Regions from separate parts of the Homo sapiens genome. Here regions 1 and 3 are each linked to region 2. The links are contacts of gene promoters, found by promoter capture Hi-C in human tissues and cell types (Jung and others, 2019). All regions are on one chromosome and are shown on one strand. The core of a region is centred on a gene start or on the middle of the fragment in contact, and the rest is flanking DNA. Distances in the headings are between cores, read along the strand shown.

What was found. Contacts are between HindIII fragments. The study calls those that stand out against the background at their distance.
Region 1: the fragment with the promoter of SCGB3A1 here is called in contact with a fragment that was not itself captured in region 2 in 1 of the 25 tissues and cell types used here (liver).
Region 3: a contact is called between the fragment with the promoter of TBC1D9B here and a fragment that was not itself captured in region 2, in 1 of the 25 tissues and cell types used here (dorsolateral prefrontal cortex).

The regions. Positions count from the first base shown.
Region 1 is chr5:180,589,750-180,594,345 of GRCh38, reverse strand. SCGB3A1 (secretoglobin family 3A member 1) reads left to right here and starts at 2,847. Exons shown (of 3, transcript NM_052863.3): 1 at 2,847-2,935; 2 at 3,508-3,746; 3 at 4,092-4,241. The coding sequence starts at 2,884. The coding sequence ends at 4,115. It overlaps LOC124901154 (a long non-coding RNA gene), which reads right to left and starts at 1,176. Exons shown (of 2, transcript XR_007059088.1): 1 at 1,137-1,176; 2 at 78-453. RefSeq lists enhancers at 2,646-3,315, 3,316-3,985, 3,986-4,596. The HindIII fragment of the contact is 36,128 bases long and covers 1-4,596 here.
Region 2 is chr5:180,318,336-180,323,062 of GRCh38, reverse strand. It overlaps GFPT2 (glutamine-fructose-6-phosphate transaminase 2), which reads left to right. Exons shown (of 19, transcript NM_005110.4): 10 at 4,107-4,270. Among named protein-coding and RNA genes, the nearest start is that of MAPK9, 29 kb to the right of the region's middle. The HindIII fragment of the contact is 5,502 bases long and covers 1-4,678 here.
Region 3 is chr5:179,905,281-179,909,646 of GRCh38, reverse strand. It overlaps TBC1D9B (TBC1 domain family member 9B), which reads left to right and starts at 1,750. Exons shown (of 21, transcript NM_015043.4): 1 at 1,750-1,943. The coding sequence starts at 1,826. RefSeq lists silencers at 1,599-1,758, 1,829-1,888, 1,899-2,038, 2,089-2,138 and an enhancer at 2,019-2,796. The HindIII fragment of the contact is 17,290 bases long and covers 1-4,366 here.

The DNA.
Region 1 (4,596 bases), core at 1,598-4,097, 270 kb before region 2:
GACCATGGCAGCTCGGGAGAGGAGAGCACATCCTTTGGCCCTGTCAGTGGTGAAACGGAGACACCGTGACACACTTCTCCGGGGAGCCAGGGGATGTATTTTTGGAATCCGAAATCTTGGGGCACATGGGAATGAGGGCCTGTCACCACCCTGCAGGCTTGTGGGAAATGGGAACAGATCCACCCAAGGCACTATGAGCCGGAAGGTGGAGGGAGGTTATTTTGAAGACAAAGGATCCCTGGAGGCAGGTGCAAGGGGCCGCTGGAGTGGCCAGGACCCCAAGCGCTGCTGGGGACCCACAGATGACGGCCTCCCCCTCCTCCTGGCCTCGGCAGCATCGGTCTTTCCCGCGGTCAGTGTTCTCTGGTCCCCAGGCAGCATGGGGAAAGGTGGCCCCAAAGTCAGCTCCCAAGATGCGCCCACTGGGATTGCTTGGGCCAAGGCTGCCAGATCCTGCTCAGGAGAAGAACAAGCATCATGAGGTTGTGGACACACTGGGATCCTTGTGCATTGTTGCTGGGAAGGCAGCGTGGTGCCGCTGCTATGGGAGAGATGGCAGATCCTCACAAATGACACAGGCAAGTTCCACAGGCTCCAGCCATTCTACCTCTGAGCAGCCACCCAAAACAGCCAACAGCAGGGTCCCAAAGAGGCATTTGCACAGCCGTGTTCACGGCCGCATTACTCACAGCAGTGAAAACATGCAAGCGCCCACATGTCCACCCACGGGTGAAGTGAATGGGTGAAGAAAACGTGGCACAGCCATGCAATGGAGCAGTATCCTACCCTAAGAAGGAAGGAAACTCTGAAGGTCATGAATGAACCTGGAGGATATCATGCTAAGTGAAATACGCCAGACACAAAAGACAAACACTGCCCGATTCCACTCATATGAGGTGCCGGGAGTGGCCAGATTCAGAGACAGAAAGTGGAATGGTGGTGCCAAGGGCTTGGGGAGGGGAGTGGGGAGTTGTTTAATAGGCTCAGAGTTTCAGTTTTATAAGAGGAAAAGAGTTCTGGAAATGGATTGTGGTGATGTTTGCACAACATTAGAATATACTTAATGCTAATGGAGTGTGCCCTTAAGATGGTGAAGCTGGGCTGTGCGGGGTGGCTCACACGTGTCATCACAGCACCTTGGGAGTCTGAGGCGGGAGGATTGCTTCAGGCCAGGATTTTGAGACCAGCTTGGTCAATGTAGCGAGACCCCATCTCTAGAAAAAATAAAAATAAATCAAGCCAGGCGTGGTGGCTCACACCTGTAATCCCAGCACTTTGGGAGGCTGAGGCAAGAGTATCACTTGAGGCTAAGAGTTCAAGACCAGTCTGGGCAACACAGTGAGACTTTGTCTCTACAAAAAATAAACAAAATTAGCTGGACATAGTGGTGCACACCTATAGCCCCACCTGCTTGGGAGGCTGAGGTGGGAGAATTGCTTGAGCCTGGGAGGTGGAGGCTGCAGTGAACCAAGATCACCTCACTACACTCCAGCCTGGGCGACAGAGTGAGACTGTCTCAAAAAACAAACAAACAAAAAACAAAATCAAAATCCGCTGAGTGTGGTGGCTCACACCTCTAGTCCCAGCTACTTGGGAGTCTGAGGTGGGAGGATTGCTTGAGCTCAGGAGTTCGAGACCAGCCTGGGCAACACGGCAAGACAGTGTCTTTACCACCACCAAAAAAGTAATTAACTTCAAACTGTTTTTAAAAAAGAAAACGTATTTCCCATTAAAATTACTTCCATGATGACCAACAAAACACAACCAAACTCCAGATTTATAATGCAAAAATCCCCCAAACAAAATAGTCAAGGAAAAGTGTAAGTGAACAGAAACAGTGTGAATGCGTGTGCCTGGCCACAACAGTTGGCAAAGGCACAAGTGTCTGCAGGTGCGGAGGAGGCCGCAGTAGCTCGGGGTGGCTGAGGGCTAAGACGTGCTGTCAGCCATAGGGAAGGAATTCCAGGACACTGCCTGAAGAGTCAGGTCCTCCCACCCGGGAGCCTGTTTCCCACGCGTGCCAGCTACACTTTACAAAAGAAAAGAGAGACTTTGCACCAACCTAGCTGAGAGCAGCCACGCAGCAAAACGTGAGTCACTCAGTGCTCAATGCCTGGGGTCAAAAAATAGAGGAAAGAAGAAGGACTAAAAGCAAATTAGTTTATGTATCATTTGCAAAAGTTTTCAAAATGTGCTTTGCTCTCCATCTGTCATACTTCTGCAGGTGACAGACGAGTGAGGACATTTAGAGAAACTCAGGAACAAACCAGGCCCATCCACTGGCGTCGAGGCTAGTTTCGAAGACAGAAAAACGCCCCACTTCTGTTTGCACTGTGGCTGCCTGTGGCCCGGCCGGGGAGGCGGCCGGGAGTGAGGCCTGATCGTCCCTGGCGCCTCCACCTCCCCAGGCGCAGAAGGCGCCCACGAGGACCCCCAGTGCCCGACGTTGCCACGGTCTGGGATCAGAGGCAGGGACCAGGGAGCCAGGAACTGCGCCGCCCCCGCCCCTGCCCTGGCGCGAGGGAAGCTCCCCTCACCCGGGCCCAGCCCTGCAGGGGGGCGCGTGGGGTCAGACCGCAAAGCGAAGGTGCGGGCCGGGGTGGGCCTCGCGGAGACAAAGGCCGGGCCTGCCTGCTCTCAGAGGGCCCCAGCGCCTGCCAAGAGGAAGTCCTCGAGGCCCGGGCAGGGAAGGGGGCACGGGCTTCCCAGGGCCCGCCGGCCGCAGCAGGAAGTTGGCCAGGGCACGGCCGTGAGCGGAGCGGGCAGGGCTTTCTCAGGAGCGCGGGCGAGGCCGGCGCTGGAGGGGCGAGGACCGGGTATAAGAAGCCTCGTGGCCTTGCCCGGGCAGCCGCAGGTTCCCCGCGCGCCCCGAGCCCCCGCGCCATGAAGCTCGCCGCCCTCCTGGGGCTCTGCGTGGCCCTGTCCTGCAGCTCCGGTGAGCGCCCCGGGCTCCTGGCGCGCACGGTGGGGCCTGAGGCCTCGGCGCCCGCTGCGCCCCCGCCGCTGCCTGCGCCGATCGTGGATCCCAGGTCCTTCCAGCCTCGCCCGGCGCCCAGAGGGCTCCGCCACCCCGGGGCCCCGCGCCTGCAGCCCGCGGCCTCCCCCTCTCAGGGCTGTCTCCAGCCTCGTGCCGGGATGGAGGCCGCCCCTGGCCTGGGGACACCCGTCTGCCCCCCGTCTGGAGACCGGCTCCTCATCCTGCAAGGCGCAGCGCGAGTGTCCCCTCCCTTGGGGGCCTGTCCCGGACCCTGCACAGAGTTCACCGGTCCTTCCGCCACCCTCAGGCCACTCCGGTGACCCTGCAGCGTCTCCTGGCGGGGCCGCCTCCCCAGACCCGCCTGTGTCCCGGGGGCTCGCACCTGGCAGGCCTCGGCGCAGGAGGGAGGGGCGGTCGGGGAGCCGGGCAGGGCGCGACGGTTCCTGGGCGCCTCCCGCGGGGGCGCGTCCTGGACCTGCCTTCTGGGGACCCCGGCGCGCAGGCGGTGACCCCTCCCTGTTCGCTTGCAGCTGCTGCTTTCTTAGTGGGCTCGGCCAAGCCTGTGGCCCAGCCTGTCGCTGCGCTGGAGTCGGCGGCGGAGGCCGGGGCCGGGACCCTGGCCAACCCCCTCGGCACCCTCAACCCGCTGAAGCTCCTGCTGAGCAGCCTGGGCATCCCCGTGAACCACCTCATAGAGGGCTCCCAGAAGTGTGTGGCTGAGCTGGGTCCCCAGGCCGTGGGGGCCGTGAAGGCCCTGAAGGCCCTGCTGGTAAAGTGGGCACCCCGGGTGCCCTTCCTGCGCGGGCATCCCTTCCCGGCCAGCCTCAAAACTGCACCAGAGGTGTCCCGGCCCTACGTCAGGGCTGTTTCCCGTCCTGCCCCTCCAAGCCCTGTCCCTGGGAGAAGCCCGGGTCTCCGGGTGGGAACTGGGTGGGGCGCATCCGAGCTGCAGGGGCGGGGAAGGCGGAGATGGCCCCGCGCGGGTGCGCGTCCCCCGGAGACGCCAGCGGAACCGCCCCGCTCCCGCTCCCCACAGAGCCGGCCGCTGCCGCGCCCCCGCCTGAGTTCTTGGTGGCAGGGCTGGGGGCACTCAAGCTCGGCTTCTGCTTTCCAGGGGGCCCTGACAGTGTTTGGCTGAGCCGAGACTGGAGCATCTACACCTGAGGACAAGACGCTGCCCACCCGCGAGGGCTGAAAACCCCGCCGCGGGGAGGACCGTCCATCCCCTTCCCCCGGCCCCTCTCAATAAACGTGGTTAAGAGCAGCTCGAGCCTGGTATTTTCTCATCCAAATGCTGATCCCTGTGGGGGACCGAGAGTGCCAAGTCCCAGATTTTGTGAGGGGTGCTGCGTGAGAGAGGGAGAGAGAGGCCGCGAGAGTCTGCAGGTGGCATAGAGCCAGCAGTGCAAGGTGACAGAGATGGGGCCAGTATCAGAGGTAAACCGGATTTGGAAACAAAACTGGCAGGTCTTTCTTCCTGTTGTGCTCTGTAACTGTTTATGAAGCATAAAAATTATCTACTCCTTGAAGACTGGCGAGAATGCAAACGCACCAAAGCCATTTGTTGCTAAAATTTGAAAGTTTTTATTTTTTCCCTCTATACTTGTAGATTTCTTCCT
Region 2 (4,727 bases), core at 678-3,177:
TGTTTCTTTTTTTATTTTTATTTATTTATTTATTTTGTCTCACTCTGTCGCCCAGACTGGAGTGCAGTGGTGTGATCTCGGCTCACTGCAAGCTCCGCCTCCTGGGTTCAAGTGATTCTCCTGCCTCAGCCTCTGAGTAGCTGGGACTACAGGTGCCCGCCACCACGCCCGGCTAATTTTTTGTATTTTTAGTAGAGATGGGGTTTCACTGTGTTAGCCAGGATTGTCTCCATCTCCTGACCTCATGATCCGCCCTCCTCAGCCTCCCAAAGTGCTGGGATTACAGGTGTGAGCCACCGCGCCCATCCAGATGTTTCTTTTTTTTTAAAAAAAAGGCATGAATGCCTGAAAGGAGAGGAAATAATTATTTGTAGGCAATACTATTACACATTTTTAAATCCAGCCAAAAGGCTGTTAGAACTGATAGTACTAGCAGCTGGGAGTAAAGGTGTGGAAATCCTATATCCTGGCCTTAGCCACTAAGCTGTATCTGGTTCAAGTGGGACCTTGTCCACCTTATTCTCAGGTGTCACCTCACGTGACCAGGCACGATGCAGTCAGCAAACGTTAGGTGAACCAAAAAAGCAATACTATTCACCACAGCTGGAAAAAAAAATGCTTTAGAGTAAATTTTAACAAAAATACTCTAGAACATATTTGGAGAAGTCTACAGAAATTTACCATGAGGAAGTAAGAGATTTGAATATAGGAAGAGATTCCACATTCCTCAGTAGGAAGGCTTACTATTCTTTTCTTTTTTTTTTTTTGAGACAGGGTCTCATTAAGTTGCCCAGGCTGTCCTCGAACTAACTCCTGGACTCAAGGGATCCTCCTGCCTCAGCTTCCAGAGTAGCTATTTTCAAAAATTAATGCACTCAACATTTAAAACTAATTTAATGATTACAAGTTATTTTTAAAAAATATTGACTCTACCCAAATTATTCTGTGAATTCTGTGCTGTAATTAAGACTGTCCAGGCCGGGCGTGGTGGCTCACGCCTGTCATCCCAGCACTTTGGGAGGCCGAGGCGGACAGATCATGAGATCAGGAGATCGAGACCATCCTGGCCAACACGGTGAAACCCGGTTTCTACTAAAAATACAAAAAAAAAATCAGCCGGGCGTGGTGGCGGAGGCCTGTAGTCCCAGCTACTCGGGAGGCTGAGGCAGGAGAATGGCGTGAACCCGGGAGGCGGAGCTTGCAGTGAGCCGAGATCGCGCCACTGCACTCCAGCCTGGGCAACAGAGCGAGACTCCGTCTCAAAACAAAACAAAACAAAACAAAACAAAACAAAACAAAACCCTCCATATTATTTTATTTGTTTATGCCTTTGGAACTTCAGGAAGTGATTCTGTCGCGTGTAGTGTAGAGATAAGAAAGACAACACATGCTGAGAAAGGAATGGCAGGTGGCCCTCCCAGATGTGAGCACACTGTCCAGCTTTTGGGCAACGGTGGCCAGTGTGTGCGGGGCACGGTATGAGAGCCTCACCAGGATCCCATGCGATAATCATGACAGACCTCTGGGGAAGGCACAGCTCTTTTCTGTTTACAGAGGCGGAACCTGAGACAGGAACTCCAGGGGGTTATGTATGTTGCCCACGGGCACAGGTCTGGCAAGTGACAGAGGCCCCGAGTCCACCTCAAGCCTAACTGGTGGGCCATTGGTTTTAATGACTAGATTACATGACTACCCATTTTGGAAATAAAATAATTATATTTAAACAAACATGTACATGCACACATAAATATAAACACACATGCGTCATGCATTGTTGGTTGGTTAATGCTACAATGGAAGCAGTGTTGATCTCTCGGAGACAGGATAGGGCCGTTTTTACTTCTTGTCACTCCATGTTTCTACTTTTTATACAAAAAAATATATTTCTATACAAAATTTTGTATAAAGCTCTGTATACTTTTATACAAAGCATACAAAGTTATTTGTACACTTTTATACAAAGCATACGAAGTTATTTGTACACTTTTATACAAAGCATACGAAGTTATTTGTACACTTTTATACAAAGCATACGAAGTTATTTGTACACTTTTATACAAAGCATACGAAGTTATTTGTATACTTTTATACAAAGTTTTGTTTAAAATATTTTTTCCAGTACAGTGGCTTGCCATCTTTCTTTCTCTTTCTTCCCTAGGATCTGGCTGGATATACGTCTTTTAGAGCCTTAGACCTTGATGGTTTCTCTCTTTACCTTTGCACCAGGAGTTTAAGTGTTCATTTTCAGGCAGTCACGTGTGGGTGTGGCTCTTGATAGAATGAGAGTGTTTTTTTTGAGACGGAGTCTTGCTCTGTCACCCAGGTTAGAGTGCAGTGGCACAATCTCAGCCCACTGCAGCCTCCGCCTCCTGGGTTCAAGTGATTCTCCTGCCTCCCAAGTAGCTGGGATTACAGGTGCCCGCCACCACACCTGGCTAATTTTTGTATTTTTAGTAGAGACGGGGTTTTGCCATGTTGGCCAGGCTGGTCTCAAACTCCTGACCTCAGGTGATCTTCCCGCCTTGGTCTCCCAAAGTGCTAGGATTACAGGTGTGAGCCAGGGCTCCCGGCCGAGAGTGTTTTCTCCAGTAGTCCTTCAAGCCCAACCTGATGGTTTATACCACAACTATATACCATTAATCACCTTTCTTTTTCATTTAGCAACTTTTCAAACTTAAAATGATTTTAAAAGATACTTTGTATTATGATCTCAAGGGAAAAAAATCATTATTCTTTTCCATACAGAGAAAGTTATAAAAATAAACACAATGGGCTGGGCACGGTGGCTCACACCTGTAATCCCAGCACTTTGGGAGGCCGAGGCGGGCGGATCACGAGGTCAGGAGATCGAGACCATCCTGGCTAACACGGTGAAACCCCGTCTCTCCTAAAAATACAAAAAAGTAGCCGGGCATGGTGTCGGGCACCTGTAGTCCCAGCTACTCGGGAGGCTGAGGCAGGAGAATGGCGTGAACCCGGGAGGCAGAGCTTGCAGTGAGTGGAGATCGCGCCACTGCACTCCAGCCTGGGCGACAGAGCGAGACTCTGTCTCAAAATAAATAAATAAATAAACACAATGACCCTATGTTTCTTTGGTAAGCATAGCTTGTAGACTACTTTTAGGGCTCCTTTGTGTATGTGTGTGTGTGTGTAAGAAACTAGGTCTTTTGTCCTGATGAGTTTCCCATTGTCTGGGTTTTGCTGAGTGCAACCCCTGGTGTCATTTACCATCTTCCTCTGTCCCCTGTGTTTCCTGTACGCTGGAGTTTACAAGTGTTAAAAGCTCGATCTTATTCAGGTTTGATTTTTTTTGGCAAGACTACATAGTTGGTGGTGTGTCCTTCCATCAGGAGGCGGGTGATGTCTCACCATCTCTCTTTTTGTGCTAAGAGCCATCAGGGGTTTGAGTGTTGCCAGCCTTATCCATCCATGATAAAGCTTCGTCCAGCTTTTTACCTTCTGGTTTCAACAGCCATGAATGGTCCTTGATTAGAGCTATTAATAATTAGGAGTTCATAAATTGATTCTTCTATTATTTCTTCATTACTAGCTGTATCACTTCTTAGAGAAACTTGCCTTCATAAAGTATGTGGTTGTTCTGAAAGACAGATTGTTTAGAAAGGCGAGATAAATGCTTTATTCTTTCCCTTCACGATTCAGAATAATGTGTTGGTTCTCGAGTATCTTCCAGAGGTGACATTGTTTGGATCCTGATTTGAAGAAACCGGTTATAAAAAGACAGCCGTGAGATTATTGGAGATATGTAAACATGCTGAATATTTGATGATATAAAGGAACAACTATTCATTTTAGATATGATTATGGTATTATAGTAGGTTAAAATAGTTTTAGAGCTCTATGGTAAAGTGTTTACAGAAGAAATGATATAATGTCTGGGACTGGCTTCAAAATAATTCCGTGGGGACAGGAGGGAAGAGTGGAGAAGAAAAGGAAGATTCACCTGCAAATCAATGTTTTTAGTGTGGTCTCTCTGTCCCTCCTAAAATGCCAACGATGTGGCCTCCACGCTTGGGAACCAGCAAGGGGCTGCTGCCTCGTAACTGCTCAGGGCAGGGCACTGATGATGCCTGTTTCCCTTGCCCCAGCGCTATCATAGAGCACACCAACCGGGTCATCTTCCTGGAGGACGATGACATCGCCGCAGTGGCTGATGGGAAACTCTCCATTCACCGGGTCAAGCGCTCGGCCAGTGATGACCCATCTCGAGCCATCCAGACCTTGCAGATGGAACTGCAGCAAATCATGAAAGGCAGGTGTCCTCCAGAGTCCACGTGCGGCAGCCTCGGGAGCCAGCGCGCCTGGTGGAGCTCCTGACACTCTGCCTGGTCCTAGTAGAGGCCACAGCCCTCCTGCCCTCTGTGGCCACCAGGGCGGGGCTGCAGGTAGCCTGTGGCTTGCACAGGTGAGGGGATGTGGGGAGGCTGGCCTGGCACCTCCAAGCGGGGGCTCCTGTGTGCAGCCAGCCGCCAGGTCTTTCCTACTGGAACTGAGCCCAGTGTGTCAGCTGCCTTCCTTCACCGACTCCGCGGGACACATGCCCACCCTCAGGCATCATTTCTCCTCTGGGTGGAAGTCTGCAGGTCTGCAGTAAATGGGGGGTGGGGGTACACTTTCTCCCTACAAGGAGAGCCTCTCTGTCTGCACCCATTTCTGTCCCCTTACAACCTCTACCCCACAGGGCAGCCTGAGCAAACGTCTAAGAACAT
Region 3 (4,366 bases), core at 501-3,000, 410 kb after region 2:
AAATCAAAAAGAAGTAAGCTTAGCACGCACATACTAAGTGATCGATAAATGTTTGTTCTTTTTCTTCTTATAAAAAACCATTCTCGAGGAGTGGTCTCCAGGTCAGCAGCATCAACATCACCTAGGAACGAGTTAGCAGTGCAAACACCCTGGGAGGGAGGGGGCAGCAACCTGTGTGGCTGTTTTTTGTTTTGTTTTGTTTTCAGATGGAGTCTTGCTATATTGCCCTGGCCGATTTTGAACTCCTGGCCTCAAGTGATCCTACCACCTCAGCCTCCCAAGTGGCTGGGACTACAGCAGCCTGTTTGAATCAGCCTTCCAGGTGATCCTAATGTATACCCAATTTGAGAACCACTGGGATTAAGGAACAAGACGACTCTTTACCTCCTCTCAGGGTGTTAAAAAGTGCAGTTCTTCCAAATTCTTTCCCTCTAGAGAGCACAATGACAATATTAGTTCAGACTTCCAAGGTGTTGAAGAAAGCCCGCCTCTGCATCTTGAAAGCTGATTCCTATATCCAGCAACATTGAAGAAGACTGCAGATCACTCTGGGTGTCAACTGCATGTACCTACATCCATCGCACCAAGATTCTTGAGTGCCAATCACAGAAACCCACCTGGAAGTCAGGTCCAGCTCCAAGGATGGTTTAACTGCCCCCTTCCCTTTGCCCTCTAGCCAGACCCTGGTGAGGGTTCCAGCCAGCAGGGTGACCCCACATCCCAGTCGACCCCGGACAGGCCCCAGGCCCGTTGTCCCAGGTGGAGTTGACAGCCCCCTCATGCAGAAGGCTGTGTGTGGACTGGCGCTGCCCCTGCAGGCCAACACTGGGAGACCAGGGACCCGCATTCGCCTGCAGCCAGCCTCACACTTGCGCAGAAGCCGCCACTGGGCCCAGGGCCAGTCCAGACCCCATCCCCAGGGCCGGCCAGCCTCTGTGACCCGTCTGTCAGGGGAGGGGCAGCACTGATTTCCAAGGATGCAGCCCGTATCAGGGCCTCCTGGCACCTGCCCTGCGCTGGAAGATTCTTCTAGTCTCCCGGCCCCAGTGTCAGAATTCTGAGAACTGGCCGGGCGCGATGGTTCACTCCTGTAATCCCAGGACTTGGGAGGCCAATGTAGGCGGATCACCCGAGGTCAGGAGTTCGAGACCAGCCTGGCCAACATGGTGAAACCCCGTCTCTACTAAAAATACAAAAAAATTAGCCGGGCGTGTTGGCGGGAGCCTGTAATCCCAGCTAAAGAGGCTGGGGCAGGAGAATCACTTGAACCCGGGAGGCAGAGGTTGCAGTGAGCTGAGATTGCGCCACTGCACTCCAGCCTGGGCGACACAGCAAGACTCTGTCGAAAAAAAAAAAAGAAAAGAAAGCTGAGAATTAGGAGGAACTGCAAACCCTTTCCAGGCGCCCTTTGCAGTGCTAACACGCCCCGGGTTGCACGCGCAACCAGCCAAAAGCCGCCAAACTCTGCTTCTTGACATCCTTCTCTCACACTGCACAGCTTTCAAAACGCCAGAAGCCCTGCTCTGCACAGCGGCTCCCCTGTCTGCGGACTGGGCCGTTCCGTTCTGGACCCAGGCCGGAGGCCGTGGGCTGCACCGCTCCAGGAGGCCAGGCTGGCGCGCGCCCGAGGCCGGGGCTGAGGGGGCGGCGCGGAACTCGGGCCGCGTGCGGGAGCGCCACACGCCCGCCAGGGGGCGCCGCCCGCCCGGCCCCGCCCCGCCCCGGCCCGCTCCGCACGCTCCGCTCCGCACGCTCCGCTCCGGGACGCCGACGGCGGCGGGCGCTTCCGTCTCGCGGGCCTCGGCCCGGTGCGAGCGGCTCCGCGATGTGGCTGAGCCCGGAGGAGGTGCTGGTGGCCAATGCGCTGTGGGTGACGGAGCGGGCCAACCCCTTCTTCGTGCTGCAGCGACGCCGGGGCCACGGCAGGGGCGGCGGCCTTACGGGTGAGAGGCGCGCGGGCGGCCGGGCCTGTGGGCGCCGCGGCTGGGCTGGCGGCGGGGCTGGCGGCGGGCGGCGGGCGGGTCCGGTTCCGGCCCGGCCTCGGCGCGTCGCGGCGGACACGCACGCCAGCGCGCGGCGGGGCGGGGGCGCGAGGCCAGGACCCGGGAGCCGGGCGCGGAGGGGCCGGGGCGGGGAGGCGAGGGGCTGGCGGGAGGCGAATGCGCCCTCGGCGGGCTCTCCTCAGGTCGGCTTGGGGCGGCCAAGTGGAGACCGGCGGCGGCTTCTGCCCGGATTCGGCGCCCGCGAGCCCCGGGGGCCGTGCAGCTTCCCGGGATCTCACCGCCGAAAGTTGGCGAGACCGCCCTGTCCTCATCCTCCACCTCAGTTTCCCCAGGTGCCTCTAAGGGGCCAGGTGACGCCAGCGCACGTTTTCTTTTGCCCTCTTCTTCGTGCCCATCTCACCAAAGTATCGCCCTTTTAGCAAGATCAGAGGTCCCTGGAGCTGGCCGCACCCCCATTCCCCCAGCTTCTCCTCCCCCACCTTTCCTGCTCCTGGCTGCTCTCAGAGCTGCGCACCCAAGGCTGTGGGTAGCGGCACAGGGTGTTCCTGCAAGCTCGCCAAGGTGGCCCTTTGTGGGCCCGGGTGCCACCATCACACAGGATGAAGCTGGACAGGCACCCTTGGAGTCGTGCGGCCTGTGGGATCCAGGGGAGGCCCACAGGCCACTCCCTCCGCAGGTGGTGTCCGGGGCCCCTCATGCTCCAGGGCCTGCGCCCAGCACTGCAGGAGCCCGGCTGGCTCGGGCTCAGTGCCTGTGCTCTTCGGGGCACCGACTGTTGCCCTACAGGATTGCGGTCCCAGTGTTGCCAGGTCGTCCAGTTTATCAAGAGCATTTTCTGTGAATCATCCTGATTTTCAGTGTGAGCAGCTAATAGCCAGATGCAGACGGAGGCTTCTCCTGGGCCACGTTTCTTCATGTGGAAGAGACTGTTCTGTTCCCAGAAACACTCAGTGTTCCCTTCAGCTTCGGGTTCCCTCCCAGTGGGCTTCAAGGATCTCGGGCTCCTGTTCTGGACCCGCCTCCTAGATCCAGCTGTTCAGTCGGCAGCCCCTGTGGCTAACCTCGAAGCTACTGCAAGCCCGATGAAGAAAGCGAGGGACCGGCACCTTTTCTTCCGCCAGCGCGCCAGGGTGTCATCAGCGCGCCAGTGTGTCATATTCGCTGGTGTACTTGAAACACTTGTGCTGTGCTCGGCAGGCTTATGTGGGTCGTCTCATTGAACGGGCGGGTGCAGGTGCAGCCCGGTCTCTGTACACCTCCTTCCTGCGGGCTCTTCTCCTTTCCACCTCACTCTCCGTGTCCCCTGGGACCGAGCTCCCAGGGTCCCCCCAAGGGAACCCTTCTTTGAACCCTCTCCCAATCTCTCCCCACTGCTAGGTTTGGTGTGTCCTGCTGTGCCCTCTGACAGGGCCTTCCCTGTGCCATCATGGGCATCGTGGCCTCCTGAGTACTGTCCTCCCTGAAGAGGAGCAGACAGGGATGTGGTTTTATCCAAGCCATCTATTAAAAACATGCCAACCTAGACTTTTCATTAAAGAATCTGAATAGCTAGCTTGGCCAACATGGCAAAACCCCGTCTCTACTAAAAATATAAAATTTATCCAGGCATGGTGGCACGCGCCTGTTATCCCAGCTACTCGGGAGGCTGAGGCACGAGAATCGCTTGAACCCAGGAGGTCAAGGTTGCAGTGAGCCGAGATGGCGCCATTGCACTCCACCTTGGGCGACAGAGCGAGACTATCTCAAAAAAGTATTAATGGACTATGAAACAAAAGTGTTAAAGTTGAATAACAGCAATAAAAATTGTTCTGACATCAACAGGAAAAATGGTAACAAAATATTTTCAGATCATGCCAAAAGCAGCACTTCGTTAAAAGGAAGAAAAAATTTCAAGTAAAAACAATAAACAGGTTTTTAGATTGCTCGATAATTCAATTAGTGAATCAAACAATGATAAAAGCTATATATTTCCTGCTGATTTGTCAGGAAATAGTGACACTGACAAAGATAGCATTACCTAAAATATAAAAGCAAAGATAGCGTTGCCACAGACTGCTTAATGTGTGTCATCTATCAAAGGGGTATATGTGATGAGAAGAAAAACTTGAAATGCCCTCAAATGTTTCAGTTCAGAAATGAAAAAACTTTATATTTTCCCAAATTTGACAATTCTAAAGATCGACTTCTTCAGTTATGATTTTTTGAGGCTAAAAGAAACTTCCTTAAACTGTCGGTAATAAAAAATCAGTGAGTCATGGCAAAGGGGAGACATTATCTTTCTGTTCTTGATATGGAAAATAATGTTGCAGAATCATTGTCCTGTGTGTGAAGAAGCGATGAGTACAGGACCAGAACTGTCCGGA